2 separate regions of the Homo sapiens genome follow, and region 2 is linked to region 1. Evidence: promoter capture Hi-C in human tissues and cell types (Jung and others, 2019). All regions are on one chromosome and are shown on one strand. The core of a region is centred on a gene start or on the middle of the fragment in contact, and the rest is flanking DNA. Distances in the headings are between cores, read along the strand shown.

Region 1 (5,041 bases), core at 554-3,053:
CAGGTCCCCGCTGTGGTTGAGATACCAGGAGGCCGCCTGCGCCGCGGCGGCCCCGGGCTGCGGCGTCGGCTGGGGCTGGGGAGCCGGCGGGGGCGGCGGCGCCTGCGGGTGGTGGTGGCCGTGGTGCTGGTGGTGGTGGCCCGTGGCGGCGAGCGCGCCCTCCTGGCCGGCGGCGAGGTTGAGAGCGCTCAGGGGCGACGTGGGGCCGCTCGGGTGGTCCGAGAGGGCCTCGTCCAGGGCGGGCGGGACGCACATGTGCGCCGGCCGCTCGGCCCCGGTGTACAGGCTCATCGCTCGCATGCTGCACTGGTAGCCCCCGGCGGCCCCGGCCTCCAGGCCCTGAGCGCACGGCTGGCCGTAGGCGGCGGGCGGCGCGGCGGCGTAGGGCAGCGCCAGCGGCGGCACCACCAGGCCCGCGCGTCCGGCCCCCGGGCTCAGCTCTCCGCCCGGCGGCGACGTTCGCAGGGTCATGATGTTCTCCACGCTGAAGCCAGGCAGCCCGTTGGGCGCCGCGGCGTGGTGCTCCGGCAGCGAGCCGTCGGGGGAGCCGGCGGGCGTGGAGGCCGCGCTGCGCGGGCTGCCCTGCAGCGCGCTCTCGGGGCTCAGCGTCTCCACCTTGGTGATGACCGGCAGCGCCGGGGACGCCGCCTCGCTCTTGATCACCACCTTCTTCTCGGCCTCCTTGGGGGCGTCCGCTAGGTGGGGGGTGGCCGGGGCGCCCTTGGACGCCGCCGGGGGCGGCTCCTTGAGGTGGGCCCGCTCCTCCTTCTCCTTGGACACGTCCTTCTTTTTGAAGCGCCGCCGGCGCCGCAGGAAGCTGCCGTTCTCGAACATGTTGTAGGAGTCCGGGTCCAGGGTCCAGTAACTGCCCTTGCCGGGCTTCTTGTCGTCGCGGGGCACCTTGACGAAGCACTCGTTGAGCGAGAGGTTGTGGCGGATGCTGTTCTGCCAGCCCTGCTTGTTCTCCCGGTAGAAGGGGAAGCGGTCCATGATGAACTGGTAGATGCCGTTCAAGGTGATCTTCTTCTCGGGCGCGTTCTGGATGGCCATGGTGATGAGCGCGATGTAGCTGTAGGGCGGCTTCACCAGGTCCTTAGGCGCCGCGGGCTGGTGGTGGTGGTAGGGCGCGTAGGAGCGGCCCATCCCCGCGCTGTACTGCTCCGGGTGGCCGGAATAGACGCCCATGGGGCTGGCCATGCCGCCGTAGCTGCCCGCAGCCCGGTAGTAATTCTGCTCGCTCAGGTAGGGCACCACTCCCAGGGCGTTGGGGTCGGACACGGAGTAGCGCGCCTGCATGCTGCTTCCGAGACGGCTCGCCGGCGCCCTCGCGCACGGACTGCGGCCGGGGGAGCGAGGGGGGCCCTGAGAGCGAGAGAGCGCGAGAGAGCCAGAGGGGGAGAGGAGGGGAGCGGGAGGGGCGGCCCCGGGCTCCTGGCAGCCTCCGGGGCGAGGGTGCGCGGGCGGCGGCGCTCGGGCCGAGCAGGGGCGCGCGCTTTCAGCGGACCGGGCGGATCGGCATCCTGGAGGGCGCGCCCCGGGCAAGCGCAGCGCCGGCCCCGCTCCTCGCTGGCTCCAGGACCCGGCGGCGGCAGCGCGGGCAGGCGGGCGGCCGCGGACCCAGCGGAGACGCCGCGGCCTGGGGACCCAGGTGGACCCTCGGCCCGCGCGAGGAGGGGCGCAGGAGGCTCTCCAAGCCCCCAGCGAATCGGCAGCCCCGAGGGTCAGCGCGCCGGGGTCCGAGCGGCTGCCCCGCTGAGCCCAGAAAAAGAGGCCAAGTCCCTTTTAGGGATTGGGAAAAGTTTCAAAAGTCTTCTTGCTGAAAGCGAGTTTTTACTTTCCTCGGGCCACGCCCCCTCCCGGAACTTTGAGCCAATCACCCGGCAGCTGAGAGGAGTCGGCGCCAATCGGGGCGAGGAGCGCAGGAATCCGTCGGCTCTAAGACCCCGCCGCCCCGGCCTCCGCGGCGACTCCGTCTTCACTTGAAAACTTTTTAAAAAGTTATATCTTATTAAAATTTATTTTATGATCACATTTTGGTGAATGGGCCCACATGCCCAAAACAAAAAGATAGCCACTTTCCTCTGTTAAAAAAAATCAATTTGAAATATAAAATAGAATGGATTAATAGAGTAAAATATCTCTCCCAAAGACCTTGTAAGTAGCAATGATCCTGGGACATTTTTCTTATTAATGAGTGATGAAGCGAATAATTAGATTTCCTAATTATGGGGGCCCAGGTGTAATGGATTCAAAGCAAACGCGCTGGATTGGAATGGCAGGGCCTCTCCTGGATGTTATACTTATTTAATCAAATAATTAATCATCAACAGGGAGTTTCCAGGCTCGGGGTCGTCAAGGATAACCTATCGAGGTTTTAGAGGTAAACCCTACAAACTGAGTTTCCCTCGCTCCCCGCCGAGGAGCCAGGCAGCGGAGTGCATAGAGGGGAAGGTAGCAACGTGCTGACTGACAACTTAATCCTCCGAATTCGCGGGGAATTCGGTAGATCATCCGCGTCGCTGCGAGCAGTTTTGTGGGGTTTGGGGAAAAGGGTGAAGTGACTCTGCTATTTCCCCCTTTCGTCTCCCGCGTGGACACTCGCAGCCTACCAACTTCAGCTTCGAAACTCGTCTCCCTTTTCCCAGGTAGAAATTCCCTCTAACAAGCTGACCCCGCACTCCCAGAAGACCGGGACAATGCAGCGACCCACCCGGGCCAGGCAGAGCCGAGTTCCTGGGCCCTGCGAGGAGAAACCCGAGCCTGTTTTCCGCGGGGGCTTGGCTCGAAGGCGCGCGCAATGAGCGCCGCGCACCGCGGGCACCAAGCGTGGACGTTTCCCGTGGCCCAGGCCGGCGCCGGCCGCTAACACCGACCCTAGGGCGCTGTCCCTGCCTCCTGCTCCTGGCAACGTCCCCCTGGGAGCCTCCAAGTTGCTTTTCTATATTTCAGCCTTTTTTTTGTTTTGTTGGGTGGGTAGGGTGAGTTAGGGAGCGCGCTCCGTGGGAAGACTGGGTGAGCGGTTGATTGCAAACGGTTCAAGATCCCTTCGGGATGATATTATTCGGCAGGCAGACCTGGAGCGACTTGGATCTCCTTCAAGGATTTCTCCTTCCCTCTAGGAATCCCGGACAGTTTGTTTATTTGTGGACTGATTATTTATTCCTTCCACACCTCAATAATCAGATCCCCTTTTCCCACTTTCCCTGAAGGAGTGAGACACCCCTTTAACAAGGCTAAACACGGGCAGAATTTTGGAAGTTGCTGGTCTGGTTGGGCAGGGAAGAGGGCTTCAGGGAGAACATTTGTATTTCAGGTTTCCTTGCACCCTTCCTGGCTGTTCATCGGCTGCGTATTCGATTCTCAGCAAAAGGATGTTGAGACAACCCACCAGGCCTCTTCGCTTCGGCCTCTTCGCTTCGGGGAGGCGACTAGAAGGCAATGGGGCGTGCCACTTATTTCCAATAAAAGAACAGAAGACGAAAATGTAGATGCATTATCTTTGTCTCCTGATCAATTCAAAGCCAAAGGGAAGCTACAAATCAGGTTCCTTTACCTTGAATATTCCACTTCTGAAACATTGTTTTTATGAGTATTCTGGGCTCTTTTTCTAACCTGATCCTTTTTCTTCTTTCTTTGAAACAAAGTAAAATAAAGCTGCCCAGTTCTCAGCTCACAGGCAAATGATTTGAGCTTTCTGCCCCAACCCTAAACTCCCACCATGACTTTATTATTTTTAATAAGCTAGTATTTCCGCATCTAGCTTAAAAAAAAAAAAGGACTAGCAAAAAGTGCCCTTCTCCTGCAGCGCATGACAGGCACACTGAGTTCGTGTCACGATTTTACTGGAAATGCAAACTATTGATCAAGAAACACTCCTCAGCCTGTAGGCTTCCTGGAGGAATATTATTTACTCTGCTTTTACGAGGGGTGTGTGTGTGTGTGTGAGAGAGAGAGAGAGAGAGAAACAGCTTTATCACAGCAAAACCTAAAATAGCTAAGGACTATGAAAAAATAAATTCCAAAATGGCAGTTGCTGCCTACGTTTGTATTCACAAGGGTGTCCCGGTTTAAACCAATGTCATCTGGGGAAACAAACAAACAAACAAACAAACACCTAAATCGAGTCGCCCAATATATTATCCACCCTCCCCCGCCCCAAAGAAAGGAAAAGGGGAGGGGAAAGAAATTCGTCTCATCAAGACAGAAAAGGTGAGAGAGACACTTCCCTTTACCCCTGGAATTAGGTTTCTTGTTTGCTCAGTGGGACTCCGGGAAAGATGTTTGTTCAGGTTATTAAAACAACGCCTTCCATACACCTGGACTTTGCAAAAACCGTATTTCCCAGCTTTTCTTTAACCTGCCAGGGTATTTCGGATGGGGGGCTGCTACTTTCTGGCTGATTTTCCCCCTTCTTGACCTTGTAAGTCAGTGAGCCGAACGCGGAATCGGGTCCCAGAGGGCCTCGCGTGTTCCTGGAATAATAAGCGGCGATAAAGCCTAAAGGTATTTAATTCGCCTTCCGCCCCCACCGCGCTGCGCTCCTCCCGGCCCGTGGCCGCTGCACCTGGAGCGGCTGGGCGGACTCCGTGGGTGTTGGCGTCATCTTGAGGCCAACCAGGGAACTACTACGAGAAAAGGAAAAAGAAAAAGACCGCCCGGCCCGCCCTGCTTATCATGAAGGTGCTGACACCTTGTGGATACTCCTGGGCATTGCACGGCTGGAATGGAGCCTTCAGAAATCTGTAAAAGCAGAGAAAGGAGATAAACTGCATCGCGTCGATTAAAAAACATTTCCCGTAACTTCGCAACGTGTCAAGAACATGATCTGTTGGGAAACAAAAATGTCTTTGAAACTGCTCGGGGAGCAAGAAATTTTCTCTAGGGAAACTTGCTGGGGTTTTCCCCAAATAAAATCTATGCCTCTTAGGTGGCTAGAAGTCTGCATTTTCTTCCCCCGGAGTTGTTGAACAAATTGCCTCGTCCATGTTTTCCCGCTGCAGCTGTCTTTCTGCCCGAGGTGTGGCGTGAGCTTCAGGGAATT
Region 2 (4,806 bases), core at 675-3,174, 1.3 Mb before region 1:
CTGGGCTCTCAGCTCCAGGTACCACCTCAGAAAAGTCTATCTGGACCTGCCTGGTCCCTGTCGCTGTCGCTGGCTCACCCTGTCATGTCCTTGGCTTATCATGGTTGTAATTTTATGCTTTGGGGTATGACTGTTGGTTGCCTTTCTTGTTACTCAAAGAAGAATGGTGGAATGATTAAAAGTACCATATAAGTTCAGAGTCAAAAGGACAGCTCCCAGGCTACTTGCTGGCCGGACAAGCGAGGTAACCCTACCAAGCCTCAGCTTCCTTATTTGCAAAATGGCTCTAACTGGCACCTACCCTATTGCATAAGAAGCTGTCTAGGGGAGGACTCAGTGAGCACTCGGTGAGTTTGCCCAGCCATGGTGGTACTGTCTCCTTCCCTCTGCAGGCACAGCGGGAAGAATAGGGCAGATGGAGGGGTCTCTGCACCTTCCACAGCCAGCAATGTGGACGGCAGATTACAAGTTAGTATCTGTGTGACCTCCGCACTCCCCCGCCTGTGGCTGCCTGGGCTGCTGAGATTTCGCTCGGTTTTATCACCGCAGAGGAATGCCCGACATACCGGGGGGCGAGCAAGGTCCAGAATGACAAGCCCTGGCATTCCTCAGCCGCCCCCTCCCTGGGGTGGGGCCTGGACATTCCTGGCTGCAGCTAGAGGTCCCAGCACGACAGGGATTCTGACCCCCCTCCACCACGGCTATTGTTCAGAATTCTGTGGATTCCAGAGGCATCTGCCCAGCAGACTGTCTTGCTGTGAACACCCAGCTCTGCAACCGGTGTTTGCGTGTTTGCCCTGGGAGGCTGAACGCTCACCCAGAACAAAGGCCTCCCCACATGCCTGCTGTGAGCTTCCAAGGACTCGTTTGCACACACGCCAAGGAACCCCGGGGTGGGGTGATACTGAGGAGCTTCCTCCCTGACCCACACACACCCTTTGAACAGGTCTTTGGCCGCTCACCAGTCTGGTCAATCTCGGGGCAGTATTTATATTCCTTCCCATTTCCAGGCCTAGGAGCCTTGGCATCCTGCTCTCGCCTCTAACTGAAATTACCTCTCAACCCTTTTTAGCTAAGATGCCTCTCGCATTCCCTAGGAATAACAAGCTTTAAAGCCCCTTCACACTGAAGCCTGCCTTTGAATTCCCCAGGTAGATTTGGGGGTGGGGGTCTTATGGCTCCCAGCGAACCCCCGGTTCTGTTGATTAAATTGAGCTCAGGCAGATTGCTGGCTTCCCAAAGCCTGTGTTATTACTGCTTCTCAAAGCTACGGGCACCGGATCGCCGTCTTTGGCAAGATTCTTTTGGGATACAATGGGAATTACTGGGTGGCCTCGGTTCGGTTCTTCCCTCGTCCCAGTTCGCGGCTCACCAGCCCCACTGATGCAGCCCCCAGGCTGGAAGGAGGCTGCAGGAGCTTCCCCTCAGGTCATCCTCTCATCCCTCCCCCGTGCCCCAGGAGCTGGTTGTGGGGGCGGTTCCATCCCCTCGGCCCATCCGGGACAGGAGCCTAGGTTCCCTTCGGGGGGTACCCCAAACTCCATCCTTGGCCTCAGGCCAGCCCTGGTGCACTGCCCGCTCCCAGGCTTGACGAGAGGCTGCGGGCCAGTGGGTGAAGGGGCGCGCCCTGACTGCCAGGCCCCGCCCAGGCGCATCCGGGAGGACGGGCTGGGATGACGCGGGCGCCGGGAGGGGGGAGGTCGCGAGGCCGGGGTCTCCATGGCGCAGGAGGACTGGGGCCTTCGAGGACCACGCGGGCCTGGGAATAGCCCGCCAGGCTGGGCCGGACGACGCACGTGCTCCGAGCTGGGCCGAGGGGGCGGGGCTGAGGGACGGGGCCGGGCCACGGGGCGGGGAGGAGCCGCGGACGGTGGGCGGGGCCGGCGGGCCGGGGCCTAAAAGGCGGCGCGGGCGGGGTTCCTGACGCAGCTGCGGGCGGCGGGCGGCGCGCACACTGCTCGCTGGGCCGCGGCTCCCGGGTGTCCCAGGCCCGGCCGGTGCGCAGAGCATGGCGGGTGCGGGCCCGAAGCGGCGCGCGCTAGCGGCGCCGGCGGCCGAGGAGAAGGAAGAGGCGCGGGAGAAGATGCTGGCCGCCAAGAGCGCGGACGGCTCGGCGCCGGCAGGCGAGGGCGAGGGCGTGACCCTGCAGCGGAACATCACGCTGCTCAACGGCGTGGCCATCATCGTGGGGACCATTATCGGCTCGGGCATCTTCGTGACGCCCACGGGCGTGCTCAAGGAGGCAGGCTCGCCGGGGCTGGCGCTGGTGGTGTGGGCCGCGTGCGGCGTCTTCTCCATCGTGGGCGCGCTCTGCTACGCGGAGCTCGGCACCACCATCTCCAAATCGGGCGGCGACTACGCCTACATGCTGGAGGTCTACGGCTCGCTGCCCGCCTTCCTCAAGCTCTGGATCGAGCTGCTCATCATCCGGCCTTCATCGCAGTACATCGTGGCCCTGGTCTTCGCCACCTACCTGCTCAAGCCGCTCTTCCCCACCTGCCCGGTGCCCGAGGAGGCAGCCAAGCTCGTGGCCTGCCTCTGCGTGCGTGAGTACGGGGCGCGGGCCGGGGGTTGGGAGGTCGTAGTCTCTGGGTCCCTGCATCCTTGCATCACTACGCCCCTGGCTCCCACATCTCTACATCTTTACGTTCCTGGACCATCCCGGCAGTTCTAGGCTAAGGTCATTGGTCCCAGAAACCACGTGCGTTTCTTTCATTCATTCTTTTACACTTCTCCCCACAGGCTGGGAATATCTTCAGTGACGGGACAGCAGGGTCCCTGCCCTGCCCTTCGGTGGGCATTCCATTCCCCCACTTAAGCGGTTTAGGCAAGTGCCACCCTCCCGTTGGCCCCGCTGAGCAATACTCCCAGCCTCTTGCGTGGCACCCACGTGGAGTAACTGAGCAATCGGTTTACTGTTAGAGCTCCGATTGCTGACTGGTTGGTGAGAAGGAAATTGCAGTTAAAAAAAAAATCATTCATTTCTGCTCTCCACACCAGCTCGTCAGGAATCAGTGACACGGGCTGACTCATAAGAAAACAGTAGTAATAACATCGTGTGCGGGTAGTGACTGGTGCTGATTTAGGCTAAGGGATCCCCCCTGAGGGTTCCCAGTAGTGAGAGAGCGGAGCTTGGCTGCAGATTCAGTCTGTGTTGCAGTGAATGGACGTGCGGGTCCCAGGTTTCTCTGGGAAACAGCCATGGGGCTCCTGTTTTGGTGGGCATGGTGCTGGTGTGTTCTTCACCAGGCCAGAGATAACTGCTTTTCAAAATAGTTTTCTTTTTCTTTTTCTTTCTTTTTTTTTTTTTTTTTTGACACTGAGTCCCGCTCAGTCGCCCAGGCTGGAGTACAGTGGCACGATCTCGGCTCACCGCAAGCCCGCCTCCCAGGTTCATGCCATTCTCCTGGCTCAGCCTCCCGAGTAGCTGGGACTACAGGTGCCCGCCACTACGCCCGGGTAATTTTTTTTGTATTTTTAGTAGAGACGGCGTTTCACCGTGTTAGCCAGGATGGTCTCGATCTCCTGACCTTGTGATCCGCCCGCCTCGGCCTCCCAAAGTGCTGGGATTACAGGCGTGAGCCACCGTGCCCGGCCTCAAAATAGTTTTCTTGTGGGATTTCAGGGGGAAAATCACTTGTAGCAGATGCCACATGATTTGGTTGGGTGGCGTGGGAAGGTGGGTCTTGGCAATTCTCAGATTCATCCCATGGCATGGATCGGCCTGCATCTCAATAGTGTGTGTACACATTCAAGGTGGGAAGGGCTAATTTATAGTTGGGGTCTTGAGCCATGAAATCAGGGGAGTGGCTTCTGACTGGCAGGACCTGTTGGCGCTGTTTTCTGCCACACCGTACTTTGGGGGGGAGGGGGAGGGGGAGGCATTTCTTCATAAATGTGAGAATGCCCCGAGGGCAAGACTCAGCAGGGCTCTGTGTGGTTTCTCTGAGGCTCTGAGTCGAGCAGCCGCACCACCATGCAGGTCAAAGCCGGGAAAAATCGTAGCAGGACAGCAGTGGGGAGAGCCTGTGCCTTCCAGCTGGGCGTTGGAGATGTGAATGTAGGGGATGACTCTGATTTCTTTTTTTGTCATTAGAATTTCACTGGTTCAGTCTCCCTCCCGCCTAGGTACATGTCGGCCCGGTATGTAACGACATGGATAGTAGCTTACGCAGCCTGCACTCTTATCTTTAAAAAATGAACCCCTGGTTGGCTGGGTGTGATGGCCCACGCCTATAATCCCAGCACTTTGGGAGGCCGAGACGGGCGGATCTACCGAGGTCAGGAGTTCGAGACCAGCCTGACCAACATGGTGAAACCCCATCTCTACTAAAAATACAAAAATTAGCCGGGCAGAGTGGCTCACGCCTGTAATCCCAGCTGCTTATGAGTCTGAGGCATGCTCCGGGATGTGGAGGTTGCAGTGAGTTGAGATCCCGCCACTGCACTCCAGTCTGGGTGACAGAGCAAGCCTGTCTCAAAAAAAAAAAAGCAGCCCCTGGGTGCTGAGTCTCTGACTTCCTGCTGGTGCCAGGAGTGAGTCGTGGGAAATGCTTCATTGGCCACCAGGAAGGAGACGTAGGATGGGGCGCTGCCTAGTTTTCTCTTTCTAATAAAAATCACATCAGTCATACATGAATTCATCATCATTTAAAAATTCAAACCAGCCAGGCACTGTGGCTCACACCTGTAATCCCAGCACTTGGGAGGCCGAGGCAGGCGGATCACCTGAAGTCAGGAGTTCGAGACCAGCCTGGCCAACATGGTGAAACCCCATCTCTACTAAAAATACAAAAAATTAGCTGG

Evidence for each region. Contacts are between HindIII fragments. The study calls those that stand out against the background at their distance.
Region 2: a contact is called between the fragment with the promoter of SLC7A5 here and the fragment with the promoter of FOXC2 in region 1, in 1 of the 25 tissues and cell types used here (dorsolateral prefrontal cortex).

What each region holds. Positions count from the first base shown.
Region 1 is chr16:86,563,591-86,568,631 of GRCh38, reverse strand. FOXC2 (forkhead box C2) reads right to left here and starts at 1,803. Exons shown (of 1, transcript NM_005251.3): 1 at 1-1,803. The coding sequence starts at 1,296. It overlaps FOXC2-AS1 (FOXC2 antisense RNA 1), which reads left to right and starts at 871. Exons shown (of 2, transcript NR_125795.1): 1 at 871-1,015; 2 at 3,314-3,487. RefSeq lists enhancers at 500-1,083, 1,084-1,668. The HindIII fragment of the contact is 12,739 bases long and covers 1-5,041 here.
Region 2 is chr16:87,866,625-87,871,430 of GRCh38, reverse strand. SLC7A5 (solute carrier family 7 member 5) reads left to right here and starts at 1,924. Exons shown (of 10, transcript NM_003486.7): 1 at 1,924-2,546. The coding sequence starts at 2,009. RefSeq lists enhancers at 1-610, 1-1,166, 611-1,370 and a silencer at 1,611-1,960. The HindIII fragment of the contact is 6,482 bases long and covers 1-4,806 here.